3 separate regions of the Homo sapiens genome follow, and all the other regions are linked to region 3. Evidence: promoter capture Hi-C in 16 types of primary human blood cells and fetal thymus (Javierre and others, 2016). All regions are on one chromosome and are shown on one strand. Each heading gives the region's core, a stretch centred on a gene start or on the middle of the fragment in contact. The rest is flanking DNA. Distances are from core to core; before and after follow the strand shown.

What was found. Contacts are between HindIII fragments. The CHiCAGO score rates a contact against its expected background, and 5 or more counts as called.
Region 1: a fragment that was not itself captured here is called in contact with the fragment with the promoter of OTUD7B in region 3 in 1 of 17 cell types (M0 macrophages); the score reaches 5.4 in M0 macrophages.
Region 2: a contact is called between a fragment that was not itself captured here and the fragment with the promoter of OTUD7B in region 3, in 2 of 17 cell types (M0 macrophages and M2 macrophages). The highest score is 5.5, in M0 macrophages.

The regions. Positions count from the first base shown.
Region 1 is chr1:149,957,150-149,959,945 of GRCh38, reverse strand. OTUD7B (OTU deubiquitinase 7B) reads left to right here. Exons shown (of 12, transcript NM_020205.4): 7 at 150-262. Among named protein-coding and RNA genes, the nearest start is that of MTMR11, 22 kb to the right of the region's middle. The HindIII fragment of the contact is 2,342 bases long and covers 209-2,550 here.
Region 2 is chr1:150,044,745-150,047,653 of GRCh38, reverse strand. The region is part of intron 1 of LOC124904413 (a long non-coding RNA gene); the gene reads right to left. It also overlaps a transcript of OTUD7B not described here. Among named protein-coding and RNA genes, the nearest start is that of VPS45, 22 kb to the left of the region's middle. The HindIII fragment of the contact is 5,915 bases long and covers 1-2,909 here.
Region 3 is chr1:150,009,054-150,011,989 of GRCh38, reverse strand. OTUD7B (OTU deubiquitinase 7B) reads left to right here and starts at 1,264. Exons shown (of 12, transcript NM_020205.4): 1 at 1,264-1,542. RefSeq lists silencers at 1,103-1,152, 1,413-1,702 and enhancers at 2,223-2,272, 1,637-2,519. The HindIII fragment of the contact is 17,924 bases long and covers 1-1,957 here.

The DNA of each region.
Region 1 (2,796 bases), core at 130-2,629, 52 kb after region 3:
AGAGATAAGAGATTTGACTTTGTAGTACAATTTGTAAACCAAGTGCTAAGGGATTAGGGAGTAAGTAACAGTGAATAAGGTGGAATAGGTATTGCCTCTTAGAACCCAGCCTCTAATTGCCCAATGTCCCCTGCCTGTCCTTCACACAGTCAGGGCTGGTATACACAGAAGATGAATGGCAGAAGGAGTGGAATGAACTGATCAAGCTTGCCTCAAGTGAACCCCGAATGCATCTAGGTACCAATGGAGCCAACTGTGGTGGGTAAGTATGGCTAAGTAGGGGAGGAGGAAACCTGCATAGAGTCCTCACTGGGCTTCCACAGCCCAGTGTCTAGAGAGCTCTGTGCTAAGAGGATATTAGAAGGAAAGAGGGGAACTATGCTAAGGGCACAAAAGTGTGTAACAACATGATATGTTTAGGAACTACAGGTAGTTCGGTATTGAACTGGAATATAAAGTAGCCCATCTAGACTTTGGAAACTTCAGGACAAATGACCCAGTATCTTCAGTAAGTAAACTGCAAGGAAAATAAAAAGGGACCAGGAACTTGTAGGTTTAAATGGACTAAAAAGACATATCAGGCCGGGTGTGGTGTCTCACACCTGTAATCTCAGCACTTTGAAAGGCTGAGGCAGGAGGATCGTGTGAGCCCAGGAGTTCGAAACCAGCCTGGGTAACATAGTGAGACCCCCTTTCTTTTTCTTTCTTTTTTTTCTTTTTTTTTTGAGACAGAGTCTTACTTTGTTGCCCAGGCTGGAGTGCAGTGGTGTGATCTCTGCTCACTGCAACCTCTGCCTTCAGGGTTCAAGTGATTCTCTGTTTCAGCCTCCCAAGTAGCTGGGACTACAGATGCATGCCACCACGCCCAGCTAATTTTTGTATTTTTATTAGAGACGGGGTTTCACCATTTTGGCCAGGGTGATCTCAAACTCCTGGCCTCAAGTGATCCACCCACCTTGGCCTCCCAAAGTGCTGGGATTACAAGCATGAGCCACCATGCCTGGCCAGTGAGACCACATCTTAAAAAAAAAAAATTAGCCAGGCATGGTGGTGCATGCCTATAGTCCCAGCTACTTGGGAGGCTGAGGTGGGAGGATTGCCTGAGCTGGGGAGGTCGAGGCTGCAGTGAGTTGTGACAGCACCCCTGCACTCCAGCCTGGGTGACAAAGAGAGACCTCTGTCTCTAAAAGAAAAAAAAGACATCAACCAGTTGGGATGTGTGGACATCATAAGACAATTAAGGAAATGTGAACAATGTCTCTGTGTTTGATTATTGTTAAAATTATAAAATGTGATATTAATGGTATAGTGGTTGTTTAAAAAGGTAGTCCTGGCCAGGCGCAGTGGCTCACGCCTGTAATCCCAGAACTTTGGGAGGCCGAGGTGGGCGGGAATTCGAGACCAGCCTGGCCAATGTGGTGAAACCCTGTCTCTACTGAAAATACAAAAAATTAGCTGGGCGTGGTGCTAGGCGGCTGTAATCCCAGCTACTCGAGAGGCTGAGGCAGGAGAATTGCTTGAACCCAGGAAGCAGAGGTTGTAGTCAGCCGAGTTCGTGCCACTGCACTCCAGCCCTGGCGACAGAGTGAGACTCCATTTCAAAAAAAAAAAAAAAAAAAAAAAGGTAGTCCTTTATGTTTTTAGAGATAGAAACTGAAATAAAATAAAAATGGATGAAATTATATAATGTCCAGGATTTGCTTCAAAATTCTCTGGTGGTAGCCCCGTGATGGGGGAGGTAGGTAAATAGATCTGAGGTGTAGTAAAACAAGATTGACCAAGTGTTGAAGATGGCCAAATAGGAACAGCTCCAGTCTACAGCTCCCAGCATGAGTGACGCAGAAGAGGGATGATTTCTGCATTTCCAACTGAGGTACCGGGTTCATCTCAGTAGGGCTTGTTGGACAGTGGGTATAGCCCACGGAGCGTGAGCCGAAGCAGGGCGGGGCATTGCCTCACCTGGGAAGCACAAGGAGTTGGAGAATTCCCTTTCCTAGCCAAGGGAAGCCGTGACAGACGGTACCTGGAAAATCGGGACATTCCCACCCTAATACTGCCCTTTTCCAACGGTCTTAGCAAATGGCACACCAGGAGATTATATCCCGTGCCTGGCTCGGAGGGTCCCATGCCTGCGGAGGCTTGCTCACTGCTAGCACAGCAGTCTGAGATAGAACTGCAAGGAGGCAGTGAGGCTGGGAGAGGGGCGTCCGCCATTGCTGAGGCTTGAGTAGGTAAACAAAGCGGCCGGGAAGCTCGAACTGGGTGGAGCCCACTGCAGCTCAAGGAGGCCTGCCTGCCTCTGTAGACTCCACCTCTGGCGGCAGGGCATAGCTGAACAAAAGGTAGCAGGAACTTCTGCAGACTTAAACGTCCCTGTCTGACAGCTTTGAAGAGAGTAGTGGTTCTCCCAGCACGCGGTTTGAGATCTGAGAACGGACAGACTGCCTCCTCAAGTGGGTCCCTGACCCCCGAGTAGCCTAATTGGGAGACACCTCCCAGTAGGGGCTGACTGACATCTTATACAGCCGGGTGCCCCTCTGAGATGAAGCTTCCAGAGAAAGGATCAGGCAGCAACATTTGCCGTTCTGCAATATTTGCTGTTCTGCAGCCTCCACTGGTGATACCCAGGCAAACAGGGTCTGGAGTGGACCTCCAGCAAACTCCAACAGACCTGCAGCTGAGGGTCCTGACTGTTAGAAGGAAAACTAACAGAAAGGACATCCACACCAATACCCCATCTGTATGTCACCATCATCAAAGACCAAAGGTAGATAAAACCACAAAGATGGGGAGAAA
Region 2 (2,909 bases), core at 190-2,689, 35 kb before region 3:
CAGTTCTTAGAGGAAGTGTTTGGGTCACCTACATAGGCATGTAGTTCTTGACACTGGTTACTAGAGGATTTATAGAGGATGTTCATATATTCAACAAGCATTTGTTGAATACCTATTAGGTGCTAGCCATGGAAATATGGGATTGAAAAAAACAGACAAAAATCCCTAATCTCTCTTACAATCTAGTGAGGACAATCAGACAGTACACAAAATAAGCATAATATATAGTAATCATGTGGTAGTAAGTTCTATAGAGCAAAAACAAGTTTAAAGAAGGAGGTTGGGGGGAGTGTTGAGATGCATAAGGTTTGCAGTTATAAATGTGGTGGTTAGGGAATCATTTGCTGAAAAATGAACATTGAGCAAAAACCTGAAGGATGTTAAAGGAATAAGATACATGTAATCCAGATGAAAGTTTTTTGGATAAAGGAAAGAGCAATTGCTAAATCCCTGAGGTGGGAGTGGGCTGTTCATAAGACAGCAAAGCAGCCAGGGTAGCTGAGTGATTGACAGCGGAAGATGGAAAATGGGGAATAGTTGGTGTAGGACCTAGTTGTGAGGATATTGACTTTGTTTTTTTTCCAAGACAGAGCTGTGCTCTGTCGCCCAGGCTAGAGTGCAGTGGCATGATCTTGGCTCACTGCAATCTCCGCCTCCCGGGTTCAAGCAATGCTCCTGCCTTAGCCTCCCCAGTAGCTGGGATTACAGGCACCTGCCACCATGTCCAATTAATTTTTGTATTTTTAGTAGAGATGGGGTTTCGCCATGTTAGCCAGGCTGGTCTTGGACTCCTGACCTCAAGTGATCTGCCCGCCTCAGCCTCCCAAAGTGCTGGGATTACAGGCGTGAGCCACCATGCCCACCCTAGGATATTTACTTTTATTTTGAATAAGGATGCCACTGGAGGCCAGACGTGGTGGCTAACGCCTATAATCCCAGCACTTTGGGAGGACGAGGCGGGTGGATCACGAGGTTAGGAGATTGAGACCATCCTGGCCAACATGGTGGAACCCCGTCTCTACTAAAAAAAAAAAAAAAATTAGCCAGGTGTGGTTGCATGCGCCTGTAGTCCCAGCAACTCAGGAGGCTGAGGAAGGAGAATCACTTGAACCCGGGAGGTGGAGGTTGCAGTGAGCCGAGATCGCCCCACTGTACTCCAGCCTGGGTGACAGAGCAAGACTCTGTCTCAAAAAAAAAAAAAAAAAAAAATGCCACTGGAGAGCTTTGAGGAGAGGATCAGTCTGGCTACTGGGTTGGGAATTAATCATAGCAGGCAAAGGCAAAAGAAGTGAGGTTAGTTAGGAGGCTTTACAACAACCCAGATGAGAGATGGGAGGTTTTAGCCAGGGAGATGGAGATGTTGAGAGAGTAGCTGGACTCAGGATTGTGACAGTGGACTGAAGGAAAAGCAGGTTTTGGGGGAAGATTGCATTTCTCCCTTCAACTTCAGTTACGTAGATCACCCATATGCCACACAACTGCAACTCTGTAACAGCCAATTTTTAGCTTCTTCCTTATCTAAGCCATCCTGTAGGCCATAGGAATTAAAACTAGGTTGGATCAAGGAAAAGTGAATGCTAGATCCATACAAAACTATTTGGATATTTGCCTTTGTATTTTATTGTTTTGAAATTATTTTTAATGGTTCAATAAACTCTTACTAGAACTACAAGCAATATAATTATTTCCTCTGCTTTATTAGAAATGTTTTTGTAATCATGTTAATTATATTACTTTTAACTATATAAGGCTTGTGTCTCTTTTTTATAAATTGATGTTTATATCCTCTGTAAGATAAATATAAAGGCTTTTTGTTCATATGAGGATGTGCTGTAAGATTGCAGGGAGTATAAAAATTGGCAATGGAGTAGGTGACTTGTATTATTAGTCTGATCTTAATGTTGTAACATACTGATCATGCAAAATATATAATTAGTTTGTTTTTGCTATTTAATATGTGTAGGACTGTAACAAACAGACTAGAGAAGATGGCCATAAGTTACAAGAAAGCAAGTAAATTACTATCTAATTAAAAGTATTTGATTCTAATACTAGCAGAGTTCTGTCTAGAAAATAAATTAACTTTCTGTATGCTTTTTTTGGTCTCAATTTTCCAATAATTTCCCTCAACTCTGATATGTGTCTGTTGAATAATATTTCTGATGTTAAGAATTAAAGGGGGTGTAGATCAGTGGTAGGGCGCACGCTTAGCATGCATGAGGCCCTGGGTCAATCCCCAGCACCTCCACAAAGGTTTTCTGGCTGGACACGGTGGCTCACACCTGTAATCTCAGCATTTTGGGAAGCTGAGTTGGACAGATCACTAGAGGTCAGGAGTTCGAGACCAGCGTGGCCAACATGGTGAAACCCTATTTCTACTAAAAATACAAAAAAATTAGCCGGTCACGGTGGCACACACCTGTAATCTCAGCTACTTGGGAGGCTGAGGCATGACAATCGCTTGAACCTGGAAGGCGGGGGTTGTAGTGAGGTGAGATCATGCCACTGCACTCTAGCCTGGGTGACAGAGCAAGATTCCATCTCAAAAAAAAAAAAAAATTTAGTTTAAGAACAAATAATATTGTTTATTTTCATATGGGATTTGAAATCTGAATCTAATAATTATTGGTATTATTACTAATTCCCTTGCACCACTGAACAATTTTCTGTTTAGGGACGTTGGCTATAACAAGTATATAGACATAGTGATATATAAGTTTTCTGTTTTAAAACTGAGTTTCTTTTTTTCCCCTGCCAATTTAAAGGCACACAATCAGAGAGCTATTTTCACAGGTAACTAATACATCTTGTTTCTGCTTCATATTTTAAACTCTTATTTTTCACCCTTATGAAGTTGGAAGGAGTAGATGTGTTTATTTTATAGACAGACTATAATGTTGGGTTGTTGT
Region 3 (2,936 bases), core at 15-2,514:
TCGATTGTAAACCCAGGTGTATCCCTAAGAGATATAGCTGTCTAGGAAGTTTCCCTGTTTCAGGTGTCAGTTTCCTATTCTGAGCTAGACAATTCTAAAATGCCTATGCCCCACGCCTCCCCTTTAGAAACTGAGGAAGAAGTGAGGGGAAAGAAAAGTTGACTAGAGTATTTGTTTTTACATAGGCATAATGGGCACAATTAGGCAATACATTATTTTGAATATGCAGACCAGGTGCTATAATGTTAGGAATCTGAATTAAAATTTCAAATGTCTTTTGTTAGAGTATAGCCGGGGTTGGCATCGTTTTGTGTTTGTCATAAAGAGGTATTTACTAAATGGCCTTTCTTTCTTGAAACAGTCCACACAGGCCTAATACTTATTCATTCATTCAACAAATATGGAAGGTCTACTATGTGACAAGGATGGCTTATTATGTTCTCATAGCCATAGCTCATTGTCACTCAGGTAGGACACATACAAGTTCTGCTACATATAATATAGTTTTATGTATTTTACTAAATTGTAAAACCTTTGATGTCTGGGATTATGTCTTGTTAATTTTTGTATCCCCCTGTATCACTGAGAGCAGTGATACACATCACAGGGATACAATACATATTTGAATTATGCCATAATGTTTTAAAAGACATAACAAACGCACTAGAAGACATAACAAACGCACTATGTAAGTTTTTTTTACTGTTAGCAGTCTAAAGCAGATGTATCAACAGGGTATCACTGTTATGCAAGTAAATAAATATTAAGTGTTTACAGAGAAGGATATGTTCACTTCAAGAGTGAAGGAACAAGAGAAATATATAATTGGGTGGAGACTGGTGTGGAAGAAGCTAATCTTCCTCCGGTCACTCCAGAATGATTGTGTAGAGTTACTAGAATGTCAGTCTTTTCATTCTGAAGTATTTTCATCTCTCTCACCTTTCTACAACTACTCCACCCCTTTCAGCTCCTTCCCAACGGCTGTAGCCAACTGATTCTACCCCAGAGTCCTAAGAGTCCACCCTGTACTCCTCCAACTCCTGTTCAAGAATGCTCCAGACCAGGAGCTTTAGGGACTCGGGTCGGGAAAACACGGGGTCACGCGCGGGGCAAGCGCCAAACTGGCCGCAGCCTGGGGAGCGGCGCTAAAGGCGGGGCTGCGACGGGGCGGAGCGGGAGGAGGCCCGGGGGCGGCCTGGGTGTCACCACCAACCCGCTCCGGCCGGAAACTGGCGCCTGTTTCCGGCCGGACAGCAGAAAGCCACCGATCCTGAACCAGCCGCCGGAGCCGGAGTGGCGACCGGGTGCGGAGTGGGCAAAAAGCCACTGGGGGAGGCCAGTCCCGATCAGTCCTTTCTGGCTCCAGCTCCAGATCCCGTGCGGAGCAACAGCTGCGGTCGCAGTCTCCACCACCGCCTCCACCTCCATCGCCGTCGGGGGAGGGGCCGGCCGGACCCCGGGGTCACTGCCGAGGAATGAAGAGAGGCGGCCGGGCCCCGCGCTCCGCCCCGGCCTAGGGCCTTGCCCCGGGAGCCCGCGAGGGTAACGGAGCCCCCCGTCCTGACACCGTCCCCCGTCTGCTCCCGCCCCTCCCGGCTTCTCAGACTCGCAAACTCTGCTCCTCAGATCGCCACTGTCCCCTTTCTCCTTTCTGAATCTGTTTCACCCGAAGCCATCTCCCCTCGGCACTCCTTTCTCGCCCTGACTGCTCCTTGCTTCGTCCCGATCTTTCCTCCTCCCTTTCACCTGCGTCCTGCGTTCCTACCCCGCGCTCTCCAGCTCCCGGCCTCCCTTCCTGAGCTGTGCTGGCCAGTTTGGACGGTCCCCCCTTGTCAGCTAGACTTTCGGGAGGGATGGTGGAGTTTTAAGGTGATTAAGATGCAGTGTATTATCCCCACAGTAGGATAAAGTTCATTTAAAATCTCAATATAATACTAAAATGAAAAGCAAATAAGCTTATTCTTCCTATTGATAGCCAAACTAAGGTGCATACAGTAATGGAGGAAAGGCGAGAAAAAGGTGTGTGTGTGTGTTTGTGTGTGTGTGTGAGAGAGGGAGAGAGACGGAGGTTGACGGATTCTAGGGCAGTCTTAAGAACTTTAGAAAAAAGAAAAGTTGCCATGAGCCGATGGAAACTTTAGAAGCTGATGATGAGTAAGCCGGGGGCTGCGTGATCTCACTCTTCTCATAATTACTAGGTTAACGGTGTGGCTCCGGTCGGGATGGAATGGGATTTGTTTACTGGGCCGGCGTATTTTTAGCTTGTCGGCTCACAAGGACCAGCGCTCAGAGTCTCTTTCTCCCCGCTCGTGGTAGTCTTTCTTGTCTAACCTAGGTGGCTTCTCTGGGCACAATAAAGATGTAAAAATTTGAAATTAGAAACTGACTGGTGGAATTTTATGGAAGAAGTTCCCCACAAACTTTTCAGGCAGCTTTTCACGAATGCAAAGCCTAGAATTAGCAGGACGTTGACTTTTATTTTCCTTATCTTTTTATACGTACTACGTAACGCTTTGCTTAGAAATTCACATGCTGCTAATTTTTCAGTCTTTGGCCTCTAGTACTGTATATTTAGGAGATTTTTGAGGAGGCTGGATCCCTTTGTCTTTCAGAATCTATTTCAAAGGTGGAAAAGGACAGAGTAGAGAAAGAGGTGGCGGTAAGACTGGCTCCAAAGAGTTGCTAACCCCTAAATATTTAAAAAAGTTTCTATGCTATGTAACTTCTGAAAACATGTAGAAAATTTTCTTCCTACTAAATGAGATTGCATTCCTGATGGGGAGAAGACTTCAGGGACGGAAGCTGGGTGGCTAGGGAGAATCAGAGGTAGTTAAATATTTGCTGTGTATAACTTACAAATACATTATGCGCAAACAATGAAGAATTAATTATACGCTTTGTCTTCATTGTTTTTCAAGTAGTTCTTTTAACGTTCA